Regions from separate parts of the Homo sapiens genome. Here regions 2 and 3 are each linked to region 1. The links are contacts of gene promoters, found by promoter capture Hi-C in blood cells and fetal thymus (Javierre and others, 2016). All regions are on one chromosome and are shown on one strand. Each heading gives the region's core, a stretch centred on a gene start or on the middle of the fragment in contact. The rest is flanking DNA. Distances are from core to core; before and after follow the strand shown.

What was found. The method cuts DNA at HindIII sites, captures the fragments that hold promoters and counts their contacts. A CHiCAGO score of 5 or more calls a contact.
Region 2: the fragment with the promoter of CCAR2 here is called in contact with the fragment with the promoter of CHMP7 in region 1 in 4 of 17 cell types (fetal thymus, activated CD4 T cells, total B cells and 1 more); the score reaches 8.5 in fetal thymus.
Region 3: the fragment with the promoter of BIN3 here is called in contact with the fragment with the promoter of CHMP7 in region 1 in 3 of 17 cell types (neutrophils, fetal thymus and naive CD4 T cells); the score reaches 11.6 in neutrophils.

The regions. Positions count from the first base shown.
Region 1 is chr8:23,241,267-23,245,445 of GRCh38, reverse strand. CHMP7 (charged multivesicular body protein 7) reads right to left here and starts at 1,809. Exons shown (of 11, transcript NM_152272.5): 1 at 1,602-1,809. RefSeq lists an enhancer at 1,616-2,117. The HindIII fragment of the contact is 15,350 bases long and covers 1-4,179 here.
Region 2 is chr8:22,602,369-22,606,547 of GRCh38, reverse strand. It overlaps CCAR2 (cell cycle and apoptosis regulator 2), which reads right to left and starts at 1,791. Exons shown (of 21, transcript NM_001393997.1): 1 at 1,706-1,791; 2 at 717-812; 3 at 372-463. The coding sequence starts at 774. It overlaps C8orf58 (chromosome 8 open reading frame 58), which reads right to left. Exons shown (of 7, transcript NM_001013842.3): 6 at 3,905-4,011; 7 at 2,406-3,353. The coding sequence ends at 3,242. It overlaps LOC107986876 (a long non-coding RNA gene), which reads left to right and starts at 1,548. Exons shown (of 1, transcript NR_160769.1): 1 at 1,548-3,415. RefSeq lists silencers at 1,374-1,433, 1,494-1,793 and enhancers at 1,457-1,957, 1,964-2,073. The HindIII fragment of the contact is 4,257 bases long and covers 143-4,179 here.
Region 3 is chr8:22,666,860-22,671,038 of GRCh38, reverse strand. BIN3 (bridging integrator 3) reads left to right here and starts at 1,918. Exons shown (of 9, transcript NM_018688.6): 1 at 1,918-1,995. The coding sequence starts at 1,988. RefSeq lists enhancers at 1,749-1,808, 1,566-2,195 and a silencer at 2,059-2,218. The HindIII fragment of the contact is 6,679 bases long and covers 1-3,123 here.

The sequences.
Region 1 (4,179 bases), core at 560-3,059:
TTCAATGTTCAAAAATCAATTAATATAATCCACCAACAGACTAAAGAAAAATCATATGATCATATTGCTAGATGCAGAAAAAGCATTTGACAAAATCCAACACCAGCTCATGATAAAAAGTCTCGGCACTCTAGGAATAGAGGGACACATCCTCCACTTGATAAAGAACATAAACAGGAACCTTACAGCCAACATAAGAATTAATGGTGAAAACCTAGATCGTTTTCCAGTGGAATCAGGAATAACACAAGAATGTCTGCTCACACCATTCCTAGTCAACACTGTACGGGAAATCCTAGCTAACACAGTTAGCCAAGAAAAAGAAATAAAAGTTGTACAGACTGAAGAGGAAGAAATAAAATGGTCTGTCTTTATAGAAGACATAATTATCCATGCAGAAAATTATGAAAGAATTGCCAAATCGATGTCCTGGAACTAAGAGGCAATGAGAACAAGATTGCAGATACAAAGTTAATGTATAAAAGTCAATTCCCATATACCTATAATGATCAAGTGGAATATGAAATTAAAAATGCAATACCATTTACATTAGCACCCCCCTATAAAACTTAGGTATAAATCTAACACGGTATGTACAAATTCTACATAAGGAAAACTACAAAATTCTGATGAAAGAAATCTATGAAGGACTAAATAAATACAGAGGCATTTTATATTCATGGACAGGAAAACTCAATATTATCAAGATATCAATTCTTCCCAAATTGATCTGTAGATCCAGTGAAATCCCAGTGAAAATCATGGCTAGTTATTTTGTGGATATCAACAAACTAATTCTAAAGTTTATGTGGAAAGGCAAAAGACCCAGAAGAGCCAACACAATATTGAACAAATAAGTCAGAGGACGGATACAACCCAACTTCAAGAATTACTATAAATCAACAGTAATCAAGATAGTGTGGTATTAGTTAAAGAATAAACAAATAGATAAATGGAACAGAATAGGAATCCCAGAAATAGGCACATGTAAATACAGTCAACTGACCTTTCGAAAAAAGAAAGGCAATACAATGGTTCAAAGAGTCTTTTCAACAATGAGCACTGGAACAACTGTACACCTACATGCAAAAACAAAAACAAATCCAGGTACAGATCTTACACCATTCACAAAAGCCAGCTCAAATGGATCATGGACTTAAATGTAAAAACACAAAACAATAAAACTCCTAGAAGACAAAACATCTAGATGACCTTGGGCATCATGATTACTTTTTAGATACAACACAAAAAGCATAATCCATGAAAGAAATAATTGATAAATTAGACGTAATTATTATTATTATTATTATTTGCTTTCTGAAAGACACTGTGAAGAGAATGTGAAGATAAGCCACAGACTGGTAGAAACTATTTGCAAAAGACATCTCTGATAAAGGACTGTTATCCAAAACACACGAGGAACTCTTAAGACTCAAAAAAAAAAGAAAAAGAATAACCCAGTTAAAACATGGATAAAAGATCTGAGCAGACCTCTCACCAAAGAAGATCTACCAACGGCAAATAAGTATATGATAATATGCCCAACATCATATGTCATTGGGGAACAGCAAATTAGACAAGAATAGCATACTACTACACACCTATTAGAATGGTGAAAATCCAAAATACTGACCACACCAAATGCTGGTGAGGATGCAGAGCAACAGGAACTCTCATTCATTGCTGGTGGAAATGCAAACTGGTACAGCTACCGTAAGGTTGGCCAAGAGAAAAGACGAGTATACTCAAAGTCAGGCAAGCAAGTTTATTGACCTGCCGGCCTGCTGCATAACAGTCAGAGGAGGCAGCCCAGGGTGTTTAAGGTGAGGGACTTATATAGGGCTTTGAGGGCCTAGGGGCTTTCTGAGGTTAGTCTACATCCTGCAGTTGTTTGTCACTTCTTGCCCCACCTGGCTTAGAGTACCAGGATGTGGTTTGGCCTGGGGGTGGATACAGCTGTACCTAAGTTCTGGTAACGTGAAGTAGGGGCAGCATCTCAGAAGAAATAAGCTGCAGGGCATTTAGGGGAGGGGGCTTGCTGCGTTCTTCTGTGGACAGGTTGTCTCTAAGAGCTACTTTGGAAGACAGTTTGGTCGTTTTTCACAAAATTAAACATTCTCTTCCCATGCAAGTTTACTTATAGTTTAACTTTGAAACAAAGTATAACAGTCCTTTCCCAAAACAAAACTCCTTACTGCCTGTGGACTAGACTGCCTAGACTGCCACAAGATTAGAAGTTATGGTAATTTTACTAAATCAAGATGTAGCTATTTTCATTAAACCAGTATCAATGTCTTATTTATTAATGGTTACACGAGCAGAGATCATTCTGTCTTGGGCTGGGTTTATAGCCTGTGCCAAATTTTGACACCTAATAGTATTTGGCAGGGTTAAGTATGAAATTGCTTGATTAATAAACGCAAATAAAAATGTATGCTGGCAATTCCTAAGACATTTCTAATATTACTTTACCAATAATTTTAAAGATAGCTTATTTATTAAAGATTTTACTTAAGTCACATAACTTGAAAAAGCATTTGACTAGTCTTTCCTTTTTCTAATAAAGTATTTGATGTAAATGCTTTTATTTTTTAAGACAATTAATTAGAGCTCTTTGATATATTTTCAGGAGTGCAACATTGTATACATAACATATAAATACATAGATGTATTAGGCATGCTGATAGAAGAAGTACATCTTACAGATTCATAAAAACCTTTTTTCTTTATCTTAGACTTTCAGATTCTTGATAACCTGTTTCACAGTGCTAGGCAGTAGTCAGCTAAATAGTCTTAAATTTGCATATTAAAGGAAACAACTCAGGTGAAAGTCAGATAGCAAAATTTACATTATAAGGTCTGAAGAGAAATTCTGTGAGCTAGAGGGAAATTAAAACAGATTTAATTGCCAATTGAACATAAAATTATAGAAATTTATCACTGGATTGTATAAGGAGACCACTGTTATTTAGATAGGGACTACCAATTCTTTTTTAACTGGATCTCTGAGCTCTGGGCAGAGCCCACACTGAATCCTGGGTCTCCAAAAAGGGAGAATTATTATGAGGCTAGACCACATGATGCTTTTACAGTGCACTTAAAACATTTTTGTAAACAAAGCATTTCTAAGTGTCTAAACTATACTCTTTCTTAAAAACCCAAGAGTAGCCTCTGTTGCAATAACTATTTTAGTAAAAAAAAAAAAAAAAATCGAGTGGAAACAGAATTGAGTCAATTGAGAACAAAAAAAGTTTTTGCTCAAAAAAAGACAAGGTCCTAGCAGAGAAAAACAAAAACAAAACCATGAAGGCCTTTTAAATATGAACATGCACTTATGCACACATACACATACACATACATTTTAAATATTAGCTTTTAATTAAGTTGACTTTTAACTATTGAGTGTCTTTAAAAATAAAAAATCTTGGGCTGGGTGCAGTGGCTCATGCCTGTAATCCCAGGACTTTGGGAGGCCCAGGCGGGCGGATCATGAGGTCAGGAGATGGAGACCATCCTGGCTAACATGGTGAAACCCCGTCTCCACTAAAAATACAAAAATTAGCCGAGTGTGGTGGCACGCGCCTGTAGTCCCAGCTACTCAGGAGGCTGAGGCAGGAGAATCGCTTGAACCCGGGAGGCAGAGTTTGCAGTGAGCCAAGATCGTGCCACTGCACTCCAGCCTGGCGACAGAGCAAGACTCTGTCTCAAAAAAAAAAAATTCAAAATTTTATTATTATATTTCAGCTAGGACAAATTGCTGCTATTTCAGAAGTACCAAGTATTGGTCCGGCGCGGTGGCTCACACCTGTAATCCCAGCACTTTGGGAGGCCGACGCTGGTGGATCACCTGAGCTCAGGAGTTCGAGACCAGCTTGACCAACATGGAGAAACCCCATCTCTACTAAGAAATTCAAAAGGCACATGCCTATAATCCCAGCTACTCGGGAGGCTGAGGCAGGAGAATTGCTTGAACCCGGGAGGCGGAGGTTACGGTGAGCTGAGACCACGCCATTGGACTCCAGCCTGGGCAACAAGAACGGAACTCTGTCTCAAAAAAAAAAAAAAAAAAAAAAAAAAAGCAGAAGTACCAACTATCAAACCAGAAAGGACTTGATTTAGGAACCAAACTTAGGCTGTCATGAAGACAGGAGAAAAAAAAAGGCAGAACCTTAGCTATTG
Region 2 (4,179 bases), core at 542-3,041, 640 kb after region 1:
TGCCATGAAGGTCTCATCTCAACCCACGCCCCAGCTCAGCGTACTGCATCAAGAGTTCGCACAGAGTGAAGTACAGGTGTGGTGGGCATACTCCATCATTAGGGGTTGGGGCATGTTTGAGCTGGTTCTTGACCCACAAGCTTCTTCTGGGATTTCCAGTTCATTAATTCCAAGACGTAAGCTAAAGATTTCCCTGGAGCGAGAAATGAAGATGCCCCAGTCTGAAGGCTATCTGGGCAACCCCATACTAGCCCACTACCAGGAGAGGGATCAGGAATGATAAACACTATTATGTAAGAGAAAAAGAGCACCAGGCCTCCATGCATTCAGTCCCAAGGGCTGAAACTTACTACAAGGGATGCCGAACCTACCTGAAGGTGCCTGGCATTCTGGGACAGTTCTGTGGCCACAGGAGGAGTGAGCAAACCAGGAGGAGGGCCCAGAAGAGATGTTGAAGCTGTGCCTATGGGGAAAGAGAAGCAATCTCCAGGAACCGCCCCTACCACCTTAAGCACGAGTCAACCAAAGGATGTGGTAAATCCAAAGGCTACAGCTCCAGCCAGCTCCTCCACAGAGCTTCACTGGCAATCACTGTGGGCATCTCCTGCTTTCCAGAGGAACATCAGCAGCAAATTGCTCTCCACCAGGGAAACCCCAAACTAACTCCAGAGCACATACTTCCCAGGATGAGGCCAGGTAGGGAGAACAGTGATCACCTGAGAAGTTGCGTCCCCCTGGAAGCGGGTTGATCCGCTGGCGCTTAAACTGGGACATTGGGAACGCTGTCCTCTTTCAGAGTCGTGGGGAAAAGGCTTCAATCCAAAAAGAAAGAAATTAACAGCTTATAAGGGAAATTTCCATCTATACCCGGAAAAGTGGAGAATCTTAAGTAAGGATATTTCGGAAAACAGGGAGGTGGGTAATAAGAATGAATGAAAGCAATGGATGGAGAGAATATAGAGAAGAAAGAAATGAAACAAGAAATTACATTGTTCCAGTTTGCCCTGACAATAACCTAGTGGTGCATGATACTGTCATGCTGTTTTACAGACAAGGAAACTGATGCTCAGAGAGATCAAGAGACTTGCCCGGGGCCACATAACCAGGTAGTGACAAAACTGCTACTCACACCCAGGCCTCCCAACAACTTAGCGCTCCTCTCACTATGCCACGCCACCCCCAGAGTAGCTGGCGGGGTGAGGGGCTCGAGAGAGCCCCGATGACATTCCTTCGTTCAAAAACATCCGCCAAAACCCTCCACGCAAGGCCCGGAAAAATGGAGGAGGCCGGTGCCGGCGAGGAGACTGTGTGGGCCCTCTCCCCGGAAGCCCGACCCGTTGTTTCCTCGACCGGCTGGTGGGAAGGCAGCTCCCTGGCCGACCAAACGCGAAACCGGCTGCGCGCCACCCTCCTGCTCCCACGCTCCCGGGCCCTCCGCTCCGGCCTCAGCAGCCGCCAGCGCCGGGTCTCCCAGCAGAGCCGCGGCGAGGCCACCAAGGGAGGACTGAGGCGCGCGGTTTCTCCTCCTCCCGCCCGCCCCCAAGGCCGAGGCCGTTGCCAGGGAGACGGGACTTGCAGTCCAAAGAGGGGCTCGGCCCCTTCCGCGCCCCACGCATCTTCGCCGCCCGGCCCTCGCAGCCCCTCGGCCAGCGGAGGGGCGGAGGGGCGAAGGGGCAGAGGGGCGGCAGGGGGCCCCCCAACCCACCTGCGGGCCAGGGCAGCGACACCGGGGGGACAAAGACACCCGGAACCACCACAGCCGCTGCTGCCGCCGCCACCGGAAGCGCCTCTCCGGAAGCGCGACCACTGGTCGGAAGCTGCCGCTCTCCCGGATATGGTCCCTCCCTCGTCTCCGCCGACCTCTCCCTTCCCCCACGCCGGCTTGCCATCCCGCGGCAACTGGGGAGCGGAAGTGCGCCTTCCCGGATCGGATGCGCGTCAGGAAGTCGCGCCTCGGTAGTGTCCTCGCTAAAGAATCCCATCAGGAAAGAAGGCTTCGGATCATTGGTTCCGGGCTCAAAGGAAGCGGGAGCTGGGCCCCCCAAACACAAGGGACCCCCGACTGCCTACCACGCTCGCCTCCCTCTGGCAGTCGAGACTGCAACAGATAAGGAAACCAGCCCCTCCTGACTGGAGGAGAAGGATGCCTATCAGTGACCATTTCTAAGAGACATTCCTGGTCTGACTCAAGCCAGTGACCACCATGCCTAGCCAGTCAGGAATCAGTGCCCTAATTCTCAAATATGAAATCTAAGAGGCCTCAATGAAATGACCTGCTCAAAATCTTGCCAGGAGACTGGCCATTTTAGTCCCCATTAGCAATCCCAGCCCCCCCTTATCCTCCGACCTCCCCATCATCACTCCAGCCTTACTTTCCCCTTTCCTATTCACCTGAGGTTTACAAAGCACTTTGAGGCAGTTTAATCTCACTTTATCCTCATAACAAGTCTGTGAGGTAGATAGGGCAGGCATCATTATTCCCAGCGGGAAGCTGTGGCTCAGAAAGGTTGACTTGGGGTCTAAAAACTAGTACAGGCATCTGGTTTGAATTAAGACCTGTAAACGCTAGTACGGAGCAGAGAAGCTGAGCACTGGCTTTGAAAGTTATTCAGTTCCCAGGTTGTCCCTGATCTTCCTCATTCCTTGTGCAGTCTTCAGGAGTCCGGGGCAAGATTCCATGCAGAGGCAGCCAAAGCCACACCGTTCTCTGTCCCAGGGCTGCCAGCATGGCTCTGAGGAGGAAAGCTCAGTAACTGCCCACTGGGGAATAAAGGTCAGTTCCATCCTTCTGCAGTGACCTCCCCCAGAATATCAACCCTTTGGATGCATTATTTCAGAAGAGATGGTTGGATCCAGCCAGCTTGCAACACTGACAGTCACACAGAGATATGCATACCATTGCGCATAAATACACATCTGCAACATGCTGGGCCCAGACAGGTCACCATGCCAAAAACACTCCACGGACACCTGACAATGAGTGAGTTCACATTGTGGAAGCCCAGGGATTTCTGGTGAGGAGGAAGAGCCCTGGAGCTGCGGCATCTTGGGGGCCTCTCAAGAAACCAAGGTTCCTGACCAGACTGCTTAGAGGAGAAAGATTCAGCCCTCGACTCAAGAGAGGAGGGCAGGCGTCAGCAGCTTTTCCTGGCAATGTGGAGAAGCAGCAAGAGGGCAGAGGGCGAGGAAGACTTCACAGCAAGTCCCCTCCACCCAGGGTCACCAGGTGCACCGAGAGGTCTCAGCCTACAGAAAGGTTTTTTGCTCGTTGCTTCTTAACCACTAATGATGGCATAAAGGTCTTCCGGTGGGGGCGGCACTGAGGCCTTTCAGGGAGGTCCCTGGACTCGATCCTGTGGAATGAAAAGAAGACATTAGGCTAGAAGGGGGAAATAAAACTAACAATGGCCCTAGAGTTGAGAGAACGTGGTTTATCTGCTGGTGGGTAGCTGGGTGTGGGCGCAGCCCGGGGCTGTTAAATGACTTGGTATTTCTTCCTCCTGGAGAACGATTCAATACAAGCCCCGAAGCATGATGGCCTTCACCCACTGTGAAATCCTTTGTGCTCCACCTTGCTCTCCCCACGAACCTGGAAGGTGGCCTAAATGTCAGCATTGAGGGTGAGGGGTTGCTGAGCTAGGGTAGGCAGATTTCCCACATTCTGGTCCTAGCTGTCACTGACTCACCGTGCGGCTTTGGAAAAGCAACTACCCCCAACCCCACCCAGAACCCTGCCTCCTTATCTGTAAATGGGGTGTTTTAACTACTGTTTCTTCTAGCAGCCCCTCCCAGACTGCCTCTCAAGTTTTGCGGGGACAATAATGACAACTGGCATGACAATCTCAGCATCCTGGCTTATCAGTCTCCTCTCCGTGCCCTAACCTGGGCTGGGCACGGGGCTCACCTGGGGTCAGAGCCATCAGGAGGGGCAGGGGGCTCAGGGTGGTGGTGGCTTCTCCGGCAGATCCGGTTGAGCAGGACCTTGACCTTGTCCCAGTGGGAGATATCCCGCTGAGCAGAGGATGAGGGGTCACCCAGAGCCCTCCCCACACTCAGACCCCCGACCAAGCTCCCAGAGACAGCTGTCGCCACAGCCAGGACAAGTCGCCTGCTCCAAACAGGAATCAATCCTGTCATTTCCCCAGAGTTGCTGGCCCCCAGGGTGCCCATGCATCCCCC
Region 3 (4,179 bases), core at 669-3,168, 570 kb after region 1:
GACTTATCTGAGGTCAGTTATAGTGTCAAAGGTTGAACTGGAAATAGAGCCGCAGACTCCTCCAGACTTGTAGTCCAGAACTTATCCATTCTAGTCCTCTAGGATGTGTCTGCTGCCCTCCAGCCCTGAAACAGACTTCTACTAGGATATAGCAGTTACCTAGGCTAAAACGTTTGGAAATATTTATCCCTGTGGGGCATAACTGAGGGAGGCAGAACATGGGGAAGGGAGGAAGCAGGTGGGAAAACTATTCACAGGTGCTAACTGCCAGGAGGCTCCTAAACCCACAACAGCCCTTCCATCCGTCACACTCTCTGCAAAGCAGCAAGGACTCTCTCTTTCCCTTTACCCACACTCTCTGCCCAGGCTACCCTTTGGTGACTTCTGCTCTTCCTCTTTACTCTTCAAGGCTGCTCTTGTGCTCATTTTGGCCTGTTTCCTGAGGAACAACATGGTAATGAAGCTGATCTGCATGATGTGCTTGGGGATCCAACCTCCATTGGAAACGTCAATTGAGTCAAACTATGGACTCTCAAGAATGGAAACAGAAAACACAAATGAGAGACTGCATCCTGTGGCCCACCCTCCTACCTCTCCTGCTCAAGCCCTCTACTCCACCCTAGGAGGTCAAAACAAATCATACACTACTTCTGCTCTAGGTCATTGGTCATATTTTTCCCGCTAGGTCATTGATTAGCAACCCCCTAAGCAGTCCCTGAAACAATCCCGGTCCATCTGAGGAAGGAGAATTCCTAGAGAGAAGGTCACTGGGGGCCCAGCAGCACCTGCACGGGCCTCACTGCCTTCTTGTCTCTCTTCCAAGGCAGGGAGGTACTTAGCGGTGAGGAAACCAAGTCGGCCCAGAATCCCAGGCAACTTGTGAGCCACTAAGGCCCTGAATTCTGACTTTGGGAGACCCGAGGCAAGTCAGCTGCTTGCTTGGTCCTGTCTGTGTCTTAGCCATGGTAAGTTCCCTCTGCCTGGAGCCTCGTCACCCCTCATCTCAGATTCACCTGGCTAGCCCCGATTCTGCCTTCAGGGCTTGGCTTACACACTGGCTCCTCCTGGAAGCCTTCCCCAAAACCCCATGTGCTACTTCAGGGTCCCCTTCTAGGCTGCCACCACACCTCATTCTATCCTATCCTATAGCATGATTATAATTGCCTGCTTGTCTCTCCCTCCAGGAAAGTAGCTCTGGGAAGGAACAAGAGCAGGGCAGATACTTCTCTGAGATAGCTGTATCCTAAGGTTGGCTCGGTACCTGACACTAATATTAGTGCAACTAGTATTAGTTAAATGAAGGAATAGAACGAATGGGGCAATTTACATCATTTGAGTCCTGTAGAGGAGACCAAAGGGAAGGGCTGAAAGGCAGGGAACAACTCATACTCTGCGTCTTATTGTGTTGAATAACTCTAGGAAACATTCCAACCTGAAAAGCACCTATCTATTGATATTCAGAGCCCTGTGCCATCTTGGAAGGGAAACGTCCGTTTGTTTGTAACAGGTAATGCATGTGTGGTGTACAAACTGTAAAAGATAGGAAAGAGCATTCAGAGAATGTAAGTTTTCCACTTTCTCCATCCCAAATGGCTTCTTCTCCCACAGACAATTGCTGCCACTGTCTCTGGATTAGAAACCACTTGACAGAGGGGACAGCCCGGCTAAGGGCCCTGCATGGTCAGGTGAAGAGATCTTTAGGAGTCAGTGTTGAAGGCAGAAAACGCCCCCAGAGGTTCCCCTCATCCCCCGTTGCAGCCTGTGTGTCTAAGCGCTTGGCCAGAGCCAGAGAGTCGCCGGCAAGGGAAACTCCGCGGCGAGCACGCAGCAGCAGAAGGGTTAACGCGCCGGGCTCCGCCTCCCAACCGCCTCTTCCGGGCAGAGAGGCGGGCTTACGTCACTTCCTGGAGACTGGTTGAATCCGGAAGTGACCCTAGAGAAACGAGTTGTGGCTGAGGACCCCGGCGGCAGACGCAGGTTCGGGACCATGAGCTGGTGAGTGAGGCCCAGGCGGCGGGAGCTGCTGGACCCGCGGACCCGCGAGGCCCCTGGCCCTGTGTCAGTGCCGCGTCCCGGCTCCCTCCGGTCCCGCGCGACCCCTCCGCCCCAGAGCAAGGCCCGACAGCCCCTGCCCTAGGGTCGTTCCCTCGGTGCTTTCCGGAGTCGCAGTCTCTCAGCAGGACTCCCGGGGAGAGTGGCGGATGATCCTCTTAGCCTGGGACTCCGCGTCTGACCCGTTTTGCCGGACTCGCGTCCTCCTAGCTCCTTGAAGTGAGGGACTTCCTTGTTCCCTCCTTTTTTAAACACCCATTGAGGTGGAGTCAGTGTCGTCTTTCTCTCCTGTGGGCATCTCTGCCCCGCGCCAGTCCCTCCAGAGCTGTGGCCCTCGCTGTGGCAGCCTGGACCCAGTTCACTAATCAAAACCCACTCCCTTCTGGGTAACTATCCTCTTTGCACGACTTAGCAGGCTTCAAAAGACAAGGAAAACTTGCTTCTCTTTTTAAAGGGGCCAGAATTACACTCCGCACACACCCTTCCACTGTGGGATTGGACTGGTTTTAATCATTCCAGAGCTATTACTCACTGCCTGCCCTCTAAATAGGCATGGTTAAGTTTAAACTTATGGGAACTATCATGCCATGAGAAAAGAAGCCAGGGAGTCTTAGAGTAATAGAGTCACAATTCCAGTTGCTGCAGTATGATGTGATACTTGGGTCATAGTAGACACTTCATAATGGTGTATTTATTTTGTAAGACTCAGTTTGCCCAAAAGGCAATCCCCATTTGTTGCTCTCGATTATTTATGTTCACAGGAGAGAATTGTGACTTGCCTGCCTTCCTGGGGCTTTCTTAGAGGTTAGAGAATACTCATATGCAGCACCTTACCTTACCGTCAGGCCCAAGGACCTATATAGCCACAACCCTGGACCTCAGGGGATTCAACTATAGTGTGTGAATAAATTGAGCCCCAGAGATGTACAAGATTAATCAGCCCATGGACATAGGGAACATATTTGCCACTCTGTCCTCAGAGGCTAGTGTGTTTGTTTATGCAAAGCGCATGATAACCAGTTATGAATGAATTAAGATAACAGAATGTCCTTCAGGAAGGCTTTTGAAGCTTAATTTTGGCCATCAGTGGAGAACGCAAGCAGCTGATATCAGTCAGTGTCAGGGATACTTCTCTAAAGTAAAATGCGAACCATCTGTCCCCTCCCCCACCTGTTTCTTAGACCAAGATTGATGGACAAATGTCAGACAATCACCGCAAGCACGGGAGGAAAGCCTGAAGCAATGTCCTAATAAGCCCCGGCAGGAGCTTCTGCTTTTCCCTCCACCATTTGCTCCAGGAGGCCAATAAGGGGCTGGAGCCTTAAAAAGCTACCTTCCCTGTCTTGTTATAACCTAGTTAGTGGTGGGCAAAGCGGCAATTCTTCAGTTCCCTTTCCCAGAGGAATTACGTCCTTTCAGTGTCATTCTGGGCCCCCCAGTCTTGCAATATAGATATCCTTTTGGCTGCTGCGTCTTGAATCTTTGGAGTGTTCTTACCTAATTTTTCAAAGTGAAAATGAGGCAGTACAGATGCTTTATATTGCCTAGATTGGCCTTTACTGAACCAATCTTTCCTTCACAAGTTGGGAGAAGAGCACAGCAGAAACTAATAAAGGTAAATGATTCTCTGGGTGATCCGAAGCAGGTTGTTTCCACCTGTCTCACAGAAAGTTTCCCTTCTGAAAAAATAGTAGCCCATTCCTTAAAGGTTATCCTGTCAGGTTGGAGAGAATTGAGATTGACAACTGTCTAACAAGAGCTGAGATTTTCATCTAGTAGCTTTAATTTACCAGTACATGCACATCTTGGTATCTCCTTGGACTGAGAGTCACAGCCAGAAGGGTGGCTTTGTCCCTCAAAGCTGAGATTCCTTTCTCTTCCCCCTTAAAGGGCTTCTACGTCATCTCTTGCGTGGACCCTGACCCTGTCTCTCAAAGACGGGAACAGCACCGGCGCCTGGGCACACAATCACACTCAGTTCCTAGCTCAATGGCTGGCAAGGAGACCGGGGCTGGGTCCTTCTGATTCACTCCCTGAGTGGTTTTCCTGCCCCCAGAATGAATCCATCCATTCATGTGAGACTGGAATTCTCATTAGGGGAAGAGACCAGAGTGACGTAGAGCCATC